Linked DNA regions of Homo sapiens: all the other regions are linked to region 1. The links are contacts of gene promoters, found by promoter capture Hi-C in blood cells and fetal thymus (Javierre and others, 2016). All regions are on one chromosome and are shown on one strand. Each heading gives the region's core, a stretch centred on a gene start or on the middle of the fragment in contact. The rest is flanking DNA. Distances are from core to core; before and after follow the strand shown. Region 1 holds the start of OTUD4 (OTU deubiquitinase 4). Region 2 has its middle 2.4 kb from the start of PLRG1. Region 3 overlaps NOCT (nocturnin). Region 4 overlaps ELF2 (E74 like ETS transcription factor 2). Region 5 has its middle 5.1 kb from the start of RPS3A. Region 6 overlaps NDUFC1 (NADH:ubiquinone oxidoreductase subunit C1). Region 7 holds the start of RAB33B (RAB33B, member RAS oncogene family).

Region 1 (2,507 bases), core at 3-2,502:
ATACTTTTCTAAACCTGATTTCAAAGTGTTTCTTCGCTACAACAAGTAAATTTGAGGCAGGGACATTTTTTCATTTAGGTAACGATAACGTTTGTATTCTCTAAAAGCAGCATAATTTGAGATACAATATTTAAACATTAAGAAATCAAAGACGCTCCAAGGAAAGTGAATACATGACTGATTGCTTGCACTGAAAATACTGAAAAGTGTCTAACGTAGTTTTTAAAAAATTTTTGTCGTTGGACTCTCACCACCTGGCCTGCCTTGCCCCCCATTCCAAGGTATTTGACTACATGTCTAAACCTATAGTAATGCTCCCTTTTCTTCTCCCTCTCCTCCACCATAGCCTAAAAGACTGAATTAGTTCCTATGATTAACCATGTATTTAAATAAGGACACCAGATGTTGTATCTTAGCAAAATAAAATTTTGGTGCAACAGAAGCATGCTGGATAAATTCTGGGTTCTAAAGCATAATTTAACTTTGTCAATTCCCTGCCATTCAACGTCGGAGGGTGGGAAGTTGAGCTGAAGCCTCGAGCACTGGTGGAAGCCATGGCCAGTCCAGTCAGCATGTTATCAAGCAATTTACAAGATGAATTTTTTAAGGGGGAAAAAAAAACCCTAACGTCTTCCGACAGTGACATGTCTCTGTGATGGGGTGCTCAGCTACAGTGACAGGGTGAACAAAAATGTCTTTGGCAAAGCCTTCATCTTGCCGTAGTACGTGAGCTGTACTACTAATAGCAATCAGCAGTCCACGGTTGATTTATGGACAGAGTGTGTCGTCCCGCACCGTGCCAGTTCCCGGAGCCTCAGCCAATTAGCTCTATTTTCTGCTTAAGCCGTTAAAGCCACCTCCATGGAAACACCAGGAGAGCAGGCCGGGGGGAAGGGAGCAGACAGGTGCGCCCTCTGGAAAGAAATACACAAAGGGCCGACACTGCGCCGCCGTGTCCCTGGCAACTCCACGCCAGCCCGGCGCGCGCGATTCCCGCGGCGCAGCGGCAGGGTTGGCGGGTGGCGCGCGCAGGTCGCCCCACATCGGCCGGCGGAGCCCCTCGGCCTGCTCGCGGACGCGGCGCCAGTGCAGCGCGAAGCCGGCTTGGGGCGGTGGCGGTGGCGGCGGCGCGCCCGCGCTGTAGGGACTTGTAGTCCGCGCGCCTCCCGGGCACCTCCCCCGGGTAGGCCGGCCAGCGCGTCCCCGCCCGCCGCAAGCCGACTTCCTGCGGCTGCCAAGACTACATCTCCCGCCGTCCTCTCCGCTGTCGGGCCGAAAGCGAAAACAAATTCTGGGCTGCGAGGTGCTGTTCTCTCCCGGGCGCCCCCACCCGCTCCCTGCCCCTCCGGCGCCCTCCAGCGAGGTGGGGAAACGAAAGGCCGCGTCTTTCTTTTTGGTTTCCTCGGCTCCCGGCGTGGGGAGTGCGCGGGGGCGCAGGCCCCGCTTCACCTGAGCCGGCCCAGCGTGCGCGCCAGGGGCGGGGGTTTTCTCGCTTCACACCGGTACGGAGGAGGAAACTTGTGGGGGCGGCGACCCCCGGCCTGGGTCCTGAGTCAGGCAGCGAGGCCGTCGGGAAGTGACTACTCACTCTCGGGGTTTTCCTTAATCCCGCTCCCCCCGTTTGTCGTGGGCGCGTGTTCGCTCCGAGGAGGCGGCCGCGTGCGGACAGCCATGCATTAGGCAGGGCTTCCCTATGCGCCCGGAGAGCGCGGACCGCTGCCTCGGGCCGCCGCCGCCTGCCGCCGCTCGCGGAGCCCGAGCCCCAGCCCGAGCCGCCGCCTGCCCCAGGCCGGGGCGTCGAGCAGCCGGCGGCCTGGCCATGTGGGGCTAGCCCTCGCCGCGCCTGGCCTGCAGCAGGACCAGCAACATGGAGGCTGCCGTCGGCGTCCCCGACGGCGGGGACCAGGGCGGCGCGGGGCCCCGCGAGGACGCGACGCCCATGGACGCCTATCTGCGGAAACTGGGCTTGTATCGGAAACTGGTCGCCAAGGACGGGTCGTGCCTGTTCCGGGCCGTGGCGGAGCAGGTAATTGCGGGGGGGCGGGGAGGGCTTCGAGGGGAGGCGGGGACGGCCCGGCGGGTCTGGGTGGGGAGGCAGCTGCGGGCTGTCCGGGCCGCCCACGGCCGGGGCTGCGCGTGCCCTGGCTGTCGTCACAGCGCCCCATTGTAACGCCGGAGTGGGACGCTGCTTTGCGTCTGAAAGGTGCAAATTGAAACTCGAAAGCCCGCAAATTAACGGGGTGTCTCTCTCCTGATGAAGAGGTAATGAGTTGAGGACAACTTGTGAGGCCTGCTCGGAGCTTGTACAGTTGATTTATTGCTGGGGACCTGGCGACATGATATTTTTTACTTTTGTTCCGCATTCACCTTCCTTCCCTTCGTTTGAGAAGCACCACGCTCACCCCACTCCAGTAAACCAAGTGTTTACTAGAAGTGGTGGATCAAACTTTACTTGTGGAACATATTTTGGTTTGCTGCTGGACTTTGGAATGTAGGGTAGGCAAGCT
Region 2 (2,507 bases), core at 4-2,503, 9.4 Mb before region 1:
ACTGCACTTCAACCTGGCCGGCAGAGCCAGACTCCGTCTCAAAAAAAATTAAGCTCTCAAAGCCACCTAAACCCATATTTAAGTGTACAATATAATAGCTTACTTATTCATTCATTCAATAAATATTGAAAACTTACCAGTTGCAAGTCAATTAGATTCTGACTGTGTGATAGTAAACATCATGCCATATTCACCCCATAAGTCTACTGGGAAATACAGATATTTAAACAAATATTACAACAAAACATTCAGCTAAGAAAGCTGGAACCAAGACATTGTTATTTCTTCTGTGGCAGTATAAACACCAAAAATATTTCTGTAAAATAAAAACATTTGTAAATGCCTGCAAATATTTGTAAGTACAAATTCTTATTTGTAAAGGTAAACAACAAAAGTCATGATTATGTTCAATATTGTCACTTATTTTGTGATATAGTGTTGTGGGTTGAACTGTGTCCCCCCAAATTCACATTATGAATTCCTAACCCCCAGTATCTAAGAATGTGACCTTATTTGGAAATAGGGTATTTTTGGATGGAATTAGTTAAGATGAAGCCATACTGGAGTAGGGTGGGCCTTTAATTCAATATGATTGATGTTCTTTAAGAAGGAGAAATTTGGCATAGGCATATGCACAGTGAGAACGAAATGTGAAGATGAAGGCAGACATGACAGTGATGCAGCAGAAGACAAGAAACGGCAAAGACTGCCAGAGAACTACTGGAAGTTAGGGGAGAGGCATAGAACACATTCTCTCTCACAGCCCTTAGAAGGAACCAACTTTGCCAACGCCTTTATTTCAAGCCTCTTGCCTCCAGAACTGTGAGACAATAAACATTTGTTGTCTAAGCCATCCAGTTTGTGGTACTTTGTTACATCAGCCCTAGCAAACTAATACACATGAGATGGGGCTTCATGTAGTAGAGGATGGTGAAATTGTGATAAGTAAGACCCGAGGACTCTCTCTCTCTCTCTCACACACACACATACACCTTGCTAAGATATTTATAACTGACAGTTTATAACTGATAGTACAATCTAATTATTCCCAAAGTCTTTCCAGGCATTAACAGGAAGAACAGCCCCTTCACTGTTCCTTATAGTCCCAGAAGCTTGTTTCAACTATGCTACAAGAAAGTATCTGCTAACACTACCTTAGTATTTAGGCAAATTCATAGCATTGTGCTAAACAATTAAAGACCAAAGTTTTGGAAGAAATGTCCAAGTATCATTTTTCACAGGTTTTGACCTCAGAAATTCAAATAAACAGTGATAACTCCCATGATTACTTCCTTTTGAATTAACGAACAATTTCAAATATGAAATTTAAGGGATGGACATACTGAGCCACACAACTCTAAAGAACATTGCATATAGTGTTTTTTAAAGCTTGTATATTTAACCCTCTAAGTTGAAACAGAAAAATAAATAGTAATATTTATTATTTTATAAGAATCAGAAAACACTTCCTATAAAAATATCATAAAAAGCTGATGAAAATGGCACTCAAATCTATACTCATATGACCTATCACTGTTCAAGAGCAAAGGACAATATTTGAAGGAGAATAAAAAGAGTTTCTGTATTGGTGAGTTTAAAAAATCTTGCCTAAAGAAGGAGGGCTTTCCTTAAAACTTGTATTCTTGGTTTTACACAGACATAATACTAATAATTTATATTAATAAGTTACTTGCCGTGTCTGCTTTAAGGACAGCCCTGAGGGCCCGTACAAAGAGCAGTGGTGACACCTGCTGTTCAAATAAGGCAGCTTCGGGTGTCAGCCAGGCCATGTGTGTATGACGGAGCCTTTCAGGAATCCAATTAAACTTGTGGATCCTTTCTCCAGAAAATAAAACATATTCCCATATAAATACAAAATTTTCCTACAATATACATAATTCATGAATCCCTGAACTAAATAATAGGGTCACTTGAGTTCTATATTTATCTAAAATATTGTAAACTTTCAAGGGGATGACATCATTCTATAAATTCACGACAGTGTTTTAAAAGGAGCAAATTCGAGGCAATTTACCTCAATCATTACCATGTTGTTATTGAGAAATTAAATTAATGTCTCCAGGATGATTAAATATGTAAAAAGTTAATAGATCCAACTAGACAATTAATATATTGCCATATATATTAGTCTTGCTTAGGTTTCTATGGTTTTATTGTCATTTCAAATCATGTTATTTTCTATAGTTATTATTAATAGGTGAGTATATTATTTAGTTCATCAAGTATATATTTTACAATTATGGTATTTTCTTGCAAGGAAATACCATCACCTGCCACCTTTACAGAAAAGCAATTCTTAGGCCAAACTCACAGTTAAATTCAGAGATGCTGTATCTTCAAGTAAAAACATGACCTTAAGGCAGGGCTCAGTGGCTCATGCCTGTAATCCTAGCACTTTGGGAGGCCGAGGCGGGCGGATCACCTGAGGTCAGGAGTTCAAGACCAGCCTGGCCAACATGGTGAAACGCTGTCTCTACTAAAAATAC
Region 3 (2,507 bases), core at 4-2,503, 6.2 Mb after region 1:
ACCAGAAAAACTGTAATTAGTCACCAGTGACTCCTGACAGCAAATACAGACGCTGTATCTCCCTTCCTAACTCCAAGAAGCCAGAACACAATTACCTCACTTTTCTTTTAGTAAACATCATAGAAACCTCATTTTACTCTAAGTTGTGACTTAGAGTGACTACATGGATACACTCCCATTACAACCTCAGTCTCAAGTTTCCTCTCACTGAACTTTCATTAATATGCAAATTTCTTCCCTTTTTTTTTTCTTTGAGAGTAGCTGGGATTACAGGTGCGTGCCACCACGCCCAGCTCATTTTGTATTTTTAGTAGAAATGGGGTTTCTCCATGTTGGTCAGGCTGGTCTCGAACTCCCGACCTCAGGTGATCCGCCTGCCTTGGCCTCCCAAAGTGCTGGGATTACAGGCTTGAGCCACTGTGCCCGGCCCTGGAATTTCTTCCCTTTCTTAAAAGCTGCTTTTGGCGGGGCGTGATGGCTCATGCCTGTAATCTCAGCACTTTTGGATGGCTGAGGCGGGAGGATTGCTTGAGCCCAGGATTTCGAGACCAGCCTGGGCAACACGGCAAAACCCGTCTCGACAAAATATACAATTTTTTAAAGCTGCTTTTTTCGGGGGTCAATGTTCTTTCTCAGGGGTCTCTTGAACTGCCTTAGGCCCCAAGCTCAAAGATCCTTTTTTTTTTTTTTTTTTTGAGACAGAGTATTGCTCCTACTGTCGCCCAGGCTGGAGTGCAATGGCGCAATCTCGGCTCACTGATACCTCCGCCTCCTGGGTTCAAGTGATTCTCCTGCCTCAGTTTCCGAAGCAGCTGGGATGTACAGGTGTGCACCACCACACTTGGCTATTTTTTTTCTAATGTAAGTAGAGACAGGGTTTCACCATGTTGCCCAGGCTGGTCTTGAATGCCTCAGTTCAAGTGATCCGCACCTCGGCCTCCCAAAGTGCTGGGATTACAGGCGTGAACCACTGTGCCCGGCCAGACCAAAGGTCTTAAGGCTCTTCCAGAATCCTCTCCAGAGCTTCTCAAGCTTTCCAGGAATAAGTACCTTTGGGGAAAGGAGGGGCAGAGCTCATAAATACTCCCTAATCTTTTTGGAAGAATCCCCTGAGGCACTTGTTAAATATGCACTCCACCGGGCTTCTCCACAGGAAACTGATCAAGCAGAGGGCTGAAAGGCCAGAAATCTGCATTTTAACAACTGTCCCAAATGATTCTGCCTCTACCCCTTTTCCTAAGATGCTTGCCACAGCTCCTGCATGCGAGCGCCACCTTCTTCCAGGCATTGTGTGTGTGGTCTTCTCTGCCTGCCCCCACCACCCCGCAAACTGTCCCCTTCCAAAACACCCTCCTTTTTCACCTATTAGAAGCAAAGCATTTCTTGACAAATTCAGCCACACTGATTTCTTTCTTCTCAACTCCCACTGCAATTAGTCATGTCACCTTTTACATGTACTATTCAATAAAGCTTGTGGATAAATTGCTATCAATTGATCTTATTCATTTGTTCTAGGTAAAGTCTAGTGTTGAGACAGCAAGCAAGGTTAAATGATTTACAAATGTTAAGTGTGTGGAATGTGAATCTGGAGCCATGGTTATTAACCCCAAAGAACCCCAGTTCACCATGTTTAAACTGTTGCCATTGAATGCTAACAGAAAAATCATACATTAGTTTTCCCACAAGGAAAGCAATTTATTCCATAGCAGCTTGATAATGACAAGCTTTCCCGTTTCTTCTCTCTCATAAGCAGTTTACTCACATAGTTAAAGGACATATTAAATAAAGCTGCCTTCTCAAATGAGCTGGTGGCATTTGCCTATAAATTGTACCATGAAAAAAAGCAAATGTTCTAATGGTAGAGAACAGTAGTTCAGCCAGCTCTTCATTCTCTGAGGAGGAGGGATGTGGAGGATAGCATTTATAAATCCACAGATGACTTCCAACTGCGTTTCATCCAGTACAGTAACTGTGGCAACTGCTACTTCTTAGGGGGGCTGCTATCCTTGAGAAAAGAAAGCCAAACACCGAGATCATCCCTAGGGTCACCTTTTAATTCTAACAACCTGGAATCTGATAACTCCAAAGGGACTGTACTTATCTTCCCAATAACTACCAATTGCCAAGGGGCATAAGTTATGCAGGAACTGATTAGCAAATGTGGACAGCTGTCGGGACTCACTACTCCCCACCACAAGGCTCAGGAGTGGAGAGGAGCTTTTGGCCCCTTCAATGTCTCTCTCACATATGGGTGCCAGATGTCCAAATTTGAGGGCATAGAAGAACAATCTGGAGTTATTCTTTTTGTCATTTCATTTGGTTATGTGGAATCCAGGGCCCATCATGAATGACTCAGACTTAATAGGTCTACAGTAGGATCCAAGAATCTGCATTTTAAAAAAGCACTTCATAGGCTGGGCGCAGTGGCTCACACCTGTAATCCCAGCACTTTGGAAGGCCAAAGCAGGTGGATCACCAGAGCTGGGGAGTTTGAGACGAGCCCGGGC
Region 4 (2,507 bases), core at 5-2,504, 6.1 Mb after region 1:
AATTGGAATATGTAGTCTCAATCTTGAAAAGATCAAATTGAAAAAAAATTAGCAGTATGAAAAGAAGTTAAAAGCAGTATGTGAATAGATACATTAAAATGAAACTCAAGGAATGACACTAGTTTTCTTTTTAAAAAGCTCATTTGAAAATGAATTTAAGAAATTACCCTTCACAATTCATTGCAGCATTGGTACTAAAATTCATGTAAAAACTGAGTTACATGGTCACATCAGTCAGTGTGTAAATAGCCAATCAGAATCATTCAACATAAAACTATTTTAGAAACAAATTTGGTTGGTGGAGAAGGGCAGGCAGCAGAATGTTCTTGATAACTATTTAAAATAATTCCTCATGTTTGATAATTGTTTAAAATGATTCCTTGTGTCATCTATAGCAAAATGTTCAAAAGGATGCAAAGAAATGCTTAAGAAGAGCTTTTTAAAAACCATTTATCTGTGAGTAGACAAATACTGTTTTACTTACAGAATCATAATTTTTATTTTTTTTACATTTATTTTATTTTTTGAGATGGAGTCTCCCTCTGTCGCCCAGCCTGGAGTGCAGTGGCACAATCTTGGCTCACTTCTGCCTCCCAGGTTCAAGTGATTCTCCCACTTCAGCCTCCCAAGTAGCTGGGATTACAGGCGTGAGCCACCACTCCTGGCTAATTTTTGTATTTTTAGTAGAAATGGGGTTTTACCATGTTGGCCAGGCTGGTCTTGAAATCCTGACCTCAGGTGATCCACCTGCCTTGGCCTCCCAAAGTGCTGAGATTATAGGTGTGAGCCACAGCTCCTAGGCTAGAATCATAATTTGTCATCTACACCCTGATGTTTATGTTTAGAAGCTAAAACTTATATAAGCATGGGGATAGAATTTGGTTGTTATTAATTACAGTTGATGAATTACAGCTGCGCTTCTCAAAAACCAAACTCTCTGACCCGGATTCTGGGAGTCCCAAGAGCCTTTCACAGGATCTGTAAAGACAAAACTGTTTTGAAAATAATACTGGGACATTATTTGCCTTGTCACTTTCAAAAGTGTACAGAGGAGTTAGGAGCTATGTATAGATGGGTTATTCCAATAGATTGAAAGAGGAAGGAGAATTCAGCTGCCTTCTATTGAATCAAGTATAATAAGATTTGCAAAAATGTAAAAAACAAAGCTACTTACTTTTTGTTTTTTATTTTAAGTTATTTTTGGCCAGGCATGGTGATTTATGCCTGTAATCCCAGCACTTTGGGAGGCCAAGGCAGGAGGATCTCTTGAGTCTGGGAGTTTGAGACCAGCCTGGACAACATAGTGAGACCCTCGTCTCTAAAAAAAAAAATCAAAAAATTAGCTGGGTGTGCTGATGCGTGCCTGTGGTCTCATCTACTTGAGACGCTGAGGTAGGAGGATCACACCCCAGGAGATCTAAGCTACAGTGAACCATGATCATGCCACTGCATTCCAACCTGAGCAACAAAGCGAGACCTTGTCTCAAAAAACAGTTATTTTTCATAAAAAATGTTATTTATGGTTGCAGTAATGGGTGTATTATTTTAAATGAATTAATAATTTTGAAGTTTTCTTTGTAATTTCAAATATGATAAATACAGATAAAATCTCGAGGTCTTCAGTATTTTGAGTGTAAAAGTGTCCTCAGATAAAAAAGGTCGGAGGATAGCTGAATTACAGTGTTGTTTAGGTCTGTACTGTATGGTAGCCACTAGCCGCATGTATCTGAGTACTTAAAATGTAGCTAAGAAACTCAATTTTTAATTTTAATTAATTTAAACTTAATTTCTGGCTGATCTCATCTTGCAGAGGGCAGTTCGCTCTCCCCCTCCGAGAGTGTAAAAAAAAAAAAAAAAGAATTGCCATTCTTTTTCCTTTTTATACTTTATAATGCAAGTATATTGATTAAAAGGTCAAGGGGGAAAAGGTGAAGATGGAGTATTCCAGACCTTTAATTACCTTTTCCCCCTTTTTATTGCCTTCATTTGTATTCTTCATTTACCTATTACTGGTATAGCTTTGGGGCATTAGAGGATAAGTAGTGGTAAATCGGGTGCTGCAGTTGACTGAAGACCTTGTACTATTAGTTTATAGTGTTGCTTATAGGAGAATACCACTATCACCTAATGAAGTGTTTTCTAATTTTTTTTCACTGCTCTCAAACTAAATTGCTACTAAATTTTATTTTTGACTTGAGAACATTTTTATGAACTAGATCCATTGCCAGCATTCTTTTATGCAAAGCTGAGAGGTATGCCTCTTGTCAGACTTAATTACCAAGTTTGGTATTTTGTAACAGCTGTTGAGTGAGTCTGGAATAGTCTTCAGTACCATACAAACACCGGTTGATTAGAAAGATAGAAATGGAACAAGAAGATATTTACCAATATTAAATGAAGGTACAAGCAAATATTATTTTTGGTACTGTAATAAAAAGTAAAACAGTTCTTGAAATTTATTTCAAGGGGGATTGACCAGCAATAGCCACTACCAGTGGTAACTAGAA
Region 5 (2,507 bases), core at 3-2,502, 5.9 Mb before region 1:
GTAAAAGCACAAGTGCTGGAACTTTCCTTCTAGTCAGCAACATTTCACGAAGTGAAAATCCAGGGCTAGAATCTAGTACAATCACTATTTGGTATCATGTAGGTCTAGGTTCAATCCCACCTTATCACATAGTTTTTTTTGTTGTCATTTTTGGTTTTAAACATTTACTTTAGGTTCGGGGTACATGGGCAGGTTTGTTATATTGGTAAACTCATGTCATGGGGGTTTGTTGTATAGATTGTTTTATCTAAGGTGCTAAGCCTAGTACCCACTAGTTATTTTTTCTGATCCTCTCCTTCCTTCCACCCTCCACCCTCCATTCTCAAGTAGTCCCCAGTGTCTGTGTTCTCCTCTTTGTGCCCATGTGTTCTCATTATTTAGCTCCCACTTATACACTTATAAGCGAGAATGTAGTATTTGGTTTTCTGTTCCTGTGTTAGTTTGCTATGGATAATGGCCTCAAGCTCCATTCTTGTTCCTGAAAAAGACATGATCTTGTTCTTTTTTTATGGCTGCGTAGTAGTCCATGGTGTGTATATACTACATTTTCCTTATCCAGTCTGCCATTGATGGGCATTTAGGTTGATTCCATGTCTTTGCTATTATCACGTAGCAGTTTGACTTCAGAAAAATTTTTAATCTTTCTGAACTTGTTTTCTCATTACCATATTAGTTCAGTTCAAGGCTGCCATGTTGGACAATTCCAGGAGAGCCACTCACATAGATTGCACAGGGAGTTACACAACAACTTGGTTCAGAAGCTGTAACAGAGACTTAAATAACAGTGGCATAAACAAAGTAGAAGTTGGCCAGGTGCAGTGGCTCACGCCTGTAATCCCAGCACTTTGGGAGGCCGAGGAGGGCGGATCATGAGGTCAGGAATTTGAGACCAGCCTGGCCAACATGGTGAAACCCCATCTCTACTAAAAATACAAAAATTGCCTGGGTGTGGTGGCAGGCACCTGTAGTCCCAGCTACTCGGGAGGCTGAGGCAAGAGAATCGCTTGAACCCAGGAGGCAGAGGTTGCAGTGAACTGAGATCGCGCTGTTGCACTCCAGCCTGGATGACAGGGCGAGACTCTGTCTCAGAAAAAAAAAAAAAAAACAAGGTAGAAGTTATTTCTCACTTATGTGACAGTCCAAGTGGATGCAGTCCAGGGCTGATGATGTGTATGCCCCATAGTGTTGGTTACCTAGGTGTCAGTGATTTCATCAGTCTTATTACTCTGCTATCCATACTGTGCTGTCATCCATGTGGTCTGGAATGAAAAGTCAACATTTACGCTGGGCGTGCAGTGGCTCATATCTGTAATTCTAGCACTTTGGGAGGCCAAGGCAGGAGGATTGCTTGAGCCCCAGAGTTCAAGGCTGGAGGGAGCTGTGATTGTACCACTGCACTCCAGCCTTGTTGACTTGTCTCTAAAAAATAGAAAGAAAAGTCAACATTTAGTCCAGCAGAGAGAGGGAGAAGCAAAGAGGAGGGCACATTCCTTTCCTTACACAGTACCATCCACAAGTTACACACATCCATTCTGCTCATGTCACTTTCCTGTGTCCCTAGCTACGAGACTGGCTGAGAAATGTAATAATAGAACTTAGCAGAAAAGCCATGTGCCCACCAAATATTCTGTTACTTTCCAAGAAGGGAAGAACAGATATTTAGGAACAATTATTATCTGTCTCCCTTACTTATAAGGTTTTTGTGAAAATTAAATGCATAGCAAAATATCTGGCATAAAGTAGATGCTCAAAAAAAGTTGCTTCCTTTCATTTTTTTTCCCATTCTTCTTACCCTTACCCTTTTACCAAAAAAGACAACTTATTTCCAACATTTGTTGATTAACAATCCATTTACAACAGATCAATAACAATTGTATAGAGTGAATTTTTTTTCTTTTTCTTTTTTATTTTATTTTATTGAGACAGTGTCTCACTCTGTTGCCCAGGGTGGAGTGCAGTGCTTACTGCAAACTCTGCCTACTGCAGCCTCCCACCTGGGTTTAAGTGATTCTCATTCCTCAGGCTCCCAAGTATCTGGGACTACAGGCGTGCGCCACCGTGCCCAGATAAGTTTTTTGTATTTTTAGTAGAGACAGAGTTTCACCATGTTGGCCAGGCTGGTCTTGAACTCCTGACCTCAGGTGATCCACCCATCCCAGCCTCCCAAAGTGCTGGGATTACAGGTGTGAGCCACCATGCCCGACCAATTTTTTTTTCTTAACTGGCTAATCGCAAAGTTCATACATCTGTAAAACTGTGGAATACAATGCGTGAAAGATTCTGAATATAAACCAAAAATAAAATTCTAAGCCCCCAACCAACTGAACGGACTCCTCCTGTCAGCTAAGAGCATTCCAAAGTAAACCTAAAACACTAGTTCAGGCCATGATGGGTCAGACATACCTCATTATACCCTCCTCCCCTTGGAATTCAGGTGCAACTGACCAGCATTAACATTGACAGAGACCTTAAGACTGACAAAGCCAACTCTTGTGGCAAGAAGATAC
Region 6 (2,507 bases), core at 6-2,505, 5.9 Mb after region 1:
TATTATTCAGCACGACACTTTTCTTTCTTCTGGCTCATGTAGGAAAATTTTAATAAACCTCTTGATGAATAGCCGTAGAGATGGGGTGAAAAACCCCCAGAGGACAGAGAATAGGTAAACTCTTTTTTCTTTTAATTATTTTCTTCCTAATTCCACTGTATAGACAGAAGGCTGAGGCCGGGGTGCTAGAGAACCTTGCCGTGCTGGAATTCACGTTGACGCCCCCACGGAGCTCTGCTGCAGAGCCCTCGAGTCCCGCACTTCCGGCCGCCAGGTGGCGCTGGTTCTGTTGCCAACTCGGAGAGACTGAGCTGGGCCACGCAAGATGGCGCCGTCCGCCTTGCTGCGTCCCCTTTCCCGGCTGCTGGCCCCCGCCAGGCTCCCGAGCGGCCGTGAGTATCCTCCTCGTGCAGGCCGACTCGACCCTCAGATTACCCCTCCTAAGGCGGACCCAGCCCACGGGTGCAGGAGGCGGCAGCGGCCCGGGTTCGTCCTGCAGTGACCTTCGCCGGCAGACGACCCAAGGCCCAGCCCACGCCTGTCCCCTACGCAGGGCTCTCTGCTCCCCATCACCCGCCTCTAGCACTTATCCAAGTTCAACCTGACCACTCTTGGCCTTTGTAAATGGACTTTGGGTCCTTGCCTTCCCCACCTCTGTACGTTAGGTCCCGTAAACCGGGAGAGGAGACACCCTCCCCGGGGCGCCCCTTACATGACCACTCCCGAGTCGTCTGAGGGTCCGCAAGCCCTTAAACGAGGCTTTGAAAGCCTCGGACAGGACAGGTGCGTCCTGTCTAACTCGCCAGTGGCCCTGGGCGAGGTACTTGATCTCTTTGAACCTCTATTTCCTTGGCTGTTTAAGTGGGAGATGGGGGAGTTGAAGGGAGAATTAAATGCGATAATACGCACGTAAATGTTAGGGTTTTTTCCCTACAAGGCAGTAAGTTACAAATTTACAGACCCTCTTCCCCTTTCAGCTTCAGTGCGATCAAAGTTCTACGTGCGAGAGCCGCCGAATGCCAAACCTGACTGGCTGAAAGTTGGGTTCACCTTGGGCACCACTGTCTTCTTGTGGATCTATGTAAGTACTTTACTCCCGGATGTCGTGAGACTACACCAGCGTGGTAAGGGAATGACATAACATTGCGAGATTGAATGGTGCTGTTATATGTTGTATGGCAGTGAAACTCTCATAACAGTAGGATATTTATATAATCGCTGATACGTATTTTTCCATAAGAGAAATCCCAAGGACTAAAAAGAAATTAAGATTTCAGCAACATTGAAAAAGTATGATGGGACTAAAATTTCTGTTATTGTTCCTTAACATGGTTTTGTAAGGAATGGCAGTTTTACTAAATAGTAATTATACTTTTTTTTTTTTTTTTTGAGATGGAGTCTCACTCTGTCTCCCAGGCTGGAGTGCAGTGGCGTGATCTCGGCTCACTGAAAGCTCTGCCTCGCGGGTTCACGCCATTCTCCTGCCTCAGCCTCCCAAGTAGCTAGGACTACAGGCGCCCGCCACCACGCCCGGCTAATTTTTGTATTGTTGGTAGAGACGGGGTTTCACCGTATTAGCCAGGATGGTCTCGATCTCCTGACCTATTGATCCGCCCGCCTCGGCCTCCCAAAGTGTTCTGATTACAGGCGTGAGCCACCACGCCCGGCAATAGTAATTATACTTTATTTCTTAATGAGAATTGAGGCTAATTGGAGTTTTATGAAGGTACCTTTTTCAGATGCTGTAAGGACAAACCAGCAGTGTGCAAGTTGTACAAATTGAATCCCAGTAGACTTCCATTAGGTTTTAATCAATGTTTGTATAAATACATTGTTGGAAATTGTACATAGTGTGTAGCGACCTTTTTAAAAAAATTTTCAGGCCGGACGTGGTGGCTCACACCTGTAATCCCAGCACTTTGGGAGGCCAAGGTGGGCGGATCACGAGGTCAAGAGATCCAGACCATCCTGGCTAACACAGTGAAACCTCGTCTCTACCAAAAATACAAAAAAAATTAGCCAGGTGTAGCGAAGGGCGCCTGTAGTCCCAGCTGTTCAGGAGGCTGAGACAGCAGAATGGTGTGAACCCGGGAGGTGGAGCTTGCAGTGAGCCGAGATCGTGCTACCGCACTCCAGCCTGGGAGATACAGCGAGACTCTGTCTCAAAAAAAAAAAAAAAAAAAAAAAAAAAAATTCACACCACATGCTTTACACATAAACTTGCGTTTAATCATTTCAACAACACTACGTGGCACCTACTATTGTTGACCCGTTACAGATAAGAAACACTTGGAGAAACTAGTTTGCTGAACCCAGTTCTCCTGACTTCAGAGGCCACACTATCCTAGAAAAGACTGTGAAACACTGCCTCTGTTGGGATAAAATTTCTTTTTAAAGTTAAAGTATCTGCTATATTAATATTTAAAATTTTGTTTTTTATCTAATGGGTTTGGGACTTCCTCCACTGTCCCCCAGCTCTAAGATATTTTAAATTTTCTTGTTGAAGT
Region 7 (2,507 bases), core at 6-2,505, 5.7 Mb after region 1:
TTAAAGGGAATAAAGAATTGGGCGTGTGTCTGAGGTGGCATCATGAGAAATGCTTTTGGCAACCTGAGTAGGAACTATCACATATAGAATGTTTCTGCAGGAAAATAGATTTTTCTAAAATCAGTATCATAAAGAAACTACTACAGCAAAACTGTATGCAAGAGAATACCTAAGTACTTCCTCAAAGGCAATAGGCTTTACTTCCACAACATCTAAGGCACTGCTCGAATGAATGTTTAATAACTATTACTGATTAAATGAATTTTCCATTCTCGCGCAATTTCACTGTTTTTCCTCCGTTCATATTTGACTGACTCCCAGCACACGACACACACAGTAAATGGGTCGGTAGATAAGCCCTACACTCCTGAACTCAAAGTGTGGTCCACGGACTAGCTGCACCTGCATCATCAGCGAGATTATTAAATCATAGCCTGCATTTTCAAAAACAAGATCCCCAGGTAAATCGCATGCACAATGAAGTCTGAGAAACGCTGCCTTAGAAGTTTGCAGTATTGCAATCCTTCCAATCCCCAACTCCAATCTCATCAGCGTGAGAAAAAAATGGAGCGCACACACACCGTGCACACGGCCAGCGACCAGCCCACGGTGGGGTTGGGACACCTGTCACCCTGTCCTCCCCAACAGTTCCCCATCCGCTCACCTTGATGCGCTCCCCATCAATCTCCACCGCTCGTTCTCGGAAATCCACCCCTATCGTGGCCTCGGTGCGGTCGGGGAAGCGGCCAGCGCAGAAGCGGTAGGTCAGGCATGTCTTGCCCACATTGGAGTCGCCGATCACGATTATCTTGAAGATGCGGGAGCGGGCAGGAGGCAAAAACCCTGAGGCCCCTGACACTGCCCCGCTGGACGAAAAGCTTGCCTCGAGCGACGACTCCATCTCCTCAGCCATTCCCCCGACCCGCCCCAAACTGAGGCGGAGGAAAGGAGACACAGAAAGGCTGAGAGATTACGCCACCGCAAGAGCGCGCGCCCAGCCGGCCAGTTCGGCTGCGCAACTTCCCAGGAGCCACCGCCCACCAGCCCCGAGCGCGCCTGCGCACCTTCCCGCCCCGCCCTTGCCCGCACAGGTGTGGCACCCGCCCGCCCCGCCGCACGGAGCCGCCTGCCCGCGGCCACACGCCAGGCGTCACTCGGGCTGGCGCCGGTCTACCTAGGCAGGCGTGGGACCTGTCGGGGGCTTCACGGCAGCGCGGAAGGCCAGCCTGCAGAGAGGCTGGGCCCAGCGCCCTGACTGACCCAGCCCCGCCACGTCCAAGGTTCCCGCCCTCTGGAGGAAGCCGCGCAATCACTCCGGGGGCGGGGAGAGACAGACAACTGAGAGGAAGGAGGTACCACGGGCACTCTCTCGCGAGAGGGCCGCAGAGCCGCCTTTGACGGGGGCGTGTACCTGGAGAGCAACGGTAAGGACGGAGCCGACGGCTCCGGCGTCGGGTCGGTTCCGGCATCGACGTATCGTTTGGTCGCCCCAGAGAGGAGACAGGTTTCTTCAGCTTGCCGCTGAGGATGTGGCATCGGCTGCGCTCACCGCCGCCGCCTCTGTGAACTGCGGGAGTTGGGACAGCGGCCAGGGCTAGATGGGTGGGACGCGAGTCCTCGCCGAAAGCTTGCCCTGTGCGGGGCGCACTTGGAGGCGAGCTCTGGGCCGTGGCGAGTTTTGCAGCCTAAGGTCTTGGCAGGCGCATTGCTGTGGGCTGCCGGAGAGCAGGCTGGAGTTCGAGACCGCCCACCGGAGAGCAGGCGAGAGTTCGAGGCCTAGGTACAGCGCATTTCGCTAGGCATCCCCAAGAATATCCGCGTGATCCTTGTGGCCAGAGTTTGTTGAGCTAATATCCCCAGCCCAAACAGTAGAGCACATCACATGTCGGCCACCTGGGAGCGTTGAACCTGGTAGTTACTAGGCGCCCCTGGTGGAAATAAAACTCATTATGCCCTAGTTATGTCTTAGTGCCTGGGTGACGATGATGTAGCGGTTAAAGATTAACTGAGCGCACTTAGAGGTTGTCTTTGTCTACCTAAGGAAAATATCAATAGATTAAACCCCCAACCTTAAAGAATCTCCGTGAATTTTTCTGAGGAAACGTGCAATATTGTCATACAAAAGGCCCCAAATATGCAAACATTGCTTTTTGTTAAAAGTTTGTTTTGTTTTGCAGTGACATCTGTTTGAGCAGATGAATATGCCATTGGGAAAGTCAAGGACTGTCGGAGAGGAGGACATGGCAGACCTTAACTAAAGTGAGGGGGACAGTAGAGCACTAAAAGTTCTAGGAAAGGAGATGAACTGCTTATTCCATCAGATGAAAATATAGTCAGAACAGATGAGTAGTAGAACTTAAACATGCCCGGAGTTGCCAGGAATTTGCAAAAGCCTTGATATAATTCCTGTTGCTGTAGAAAGACTTTCTACAGTCACTAATATATCAAGTTATGTTCACTAGAAAAAAAGTTTACTTAGTTTATAGAAATGGGCTGAAAAATCCTAA

What was found. Contacts are between HindIII fragments. The CHiCAGO score rates a contact against its expected background, and 5 or more counts as called.
Region 2: a fragment that was not itself captured here is called in contact with the fragment with the promoter of OTUD4 in region 1 in 1 of 17 cell types (total CD4 T cells); the score reaches 5.3 in total CD4 T cells.
Region 3: a contact is called between a fragment that was not itself captured here and the fragment with the promoter of OTUD4 in region 1, in 1 of 17 cell types (activated CD4 T cells). The highest score is 5.0, in activated CD4 T cells.
Region 4: a contact is called between a fragment that was not itself captured here and the fragment with the promoter of OTUD4 in region 1, in 2 of 17 cell types (total CD4 T cells and naive CD4 T cells). The highest score is 9.8, in total CD4 T cells.
Region 5: a fragment that was not itself captured here is called in contact with the fragment with the promoter of OTUD4 in region 1 in 1 of 17 cell types (neutrophils); the score reaches 5.9 in neutrophils.
Region 6: a contact is called between a fragment that was not itself captured here and the fragment with the promoter of OTUD4 in region 1, in 1 of 17 cell types (non-activated CD4 T cells). The highest score is 6.2, in non-activated CD4 T cells.
Region 7: a contact is called between a fragment that was not itself captured here and the fragment with the promoter of OTUD4 in region 1, in 2 of 17 cell types (non-activated CD4 T cells and naive CD4 T cells). The highest score is 12.3, in non-activated CD4 T cells.

What each region holds. Positions count from the first base shown.
Region 1 is chr4:145,179,334-145,181,840 of GRCh38, reverse strand. OTUD4 (OTU deubiquitinase 4) reads left to right here and starts at 1,252. Exons shown (of 21, transcript NM_001366057.1): 1 at 1,252-2,026. The coding sequence starts at 1,868. RefSeq lists silencers at 846-1,245, 1,336-1,565, 1,686-2,145 and enhancers at 491-1,320, 1,321-2,150. The HindIII fragment of the contact is 3,984 bases long and covers 1-2,507 here.
Region 2 is chr4:154,551,535-154,554,041 of GRCh38, reverse strand. No RefSeq gene overlaps it. Among named protein-coding and RNA genes, the nearest start is that of PLRG1, 2.4 kb to the right of the region's middle. RefSeq lists an enhancer at 1,631-1,925. The HindIII fragment of the contact is 277 bases long and covers 1,115-1,391 here.
Region 3 is chr4:139,019,259-139,021,765 of GRCh38, reverse strand. All of the region lies in intron 1 of NOCT (nocturnin), which reads right to left. Among named protein-coding and RNA genes, the nearest start is that of NOCT, 4.7 kb to the right of the region's middle. The HindIII fragment of the contact is 438 bases long and covers 1,035-1,472 here.
Region 4 is chr4:139,077,925-139,080,431 of GRCh38, reverse strand. The region is part of intron 4 of ELF2 (E74 like ETS transcription factor 2); the gene reads left to right. Among named protein-coding and RNA genes, the nearest start is that of NOCT, 63 kb to the right of the region's middle. The HindIII fragment of the contact is 4,123 bases long and covers 1-2,507 here.
Region 5 is chr4:151,093,321-151,095,827 of GRCh38, reverse strand. No RefSeq gene overlaps it. Among named protein-coding and RNA genes, the nearest start is that of RPS3A, 5.1 kb to the left of the region's middle. The HindIII fragment of the contact is 5,246 bases long and covers 1-2,507 here.
Region 6 is chr4:139,293,617-139,296,123 of GRCh38, reverse strand. It overlaps NDUFC1 (NADH:ubiquinone oxidoreductase subunit C1), which reads left to right. Exons shown (of 6, transcript NM_001184989.2): 3 at 164-392; 4 at 978-1,081. The coding sequence starts at 326. Among named protein-coding and RNA genes, the nearest start is that of NAA15, 6.6 kb to the left of the region's middle. RefSeq lists an enhancer at 1-533. The HindIII fragment of the contact is 2,778 bases long and covers 1-2,507 here.
Region 7 is chr4:139,452,602-139,455,108 of GRCh38, reverse strand. It overlaps RAB33B (RAB33B, member RAS oncogene family), which reads right to left and starts at 988. Exons shown (of 2, transcript NM_031296.3): 1 at 665-988. The coding sequence starts at 913. RAB33B-AS1 (RAB33B antisense RNA 1) reads left to right here and starts at 1,068. Exons shown (of 1, transcript NR_159964.1): 1 at 1,068-2,507. RefSeq lists enhancers at 691-740, 1,361-1,700 and a silencer at 961-1,290. The HindIII fragment of the contact is 749 bases long and covers 881-1,629 here.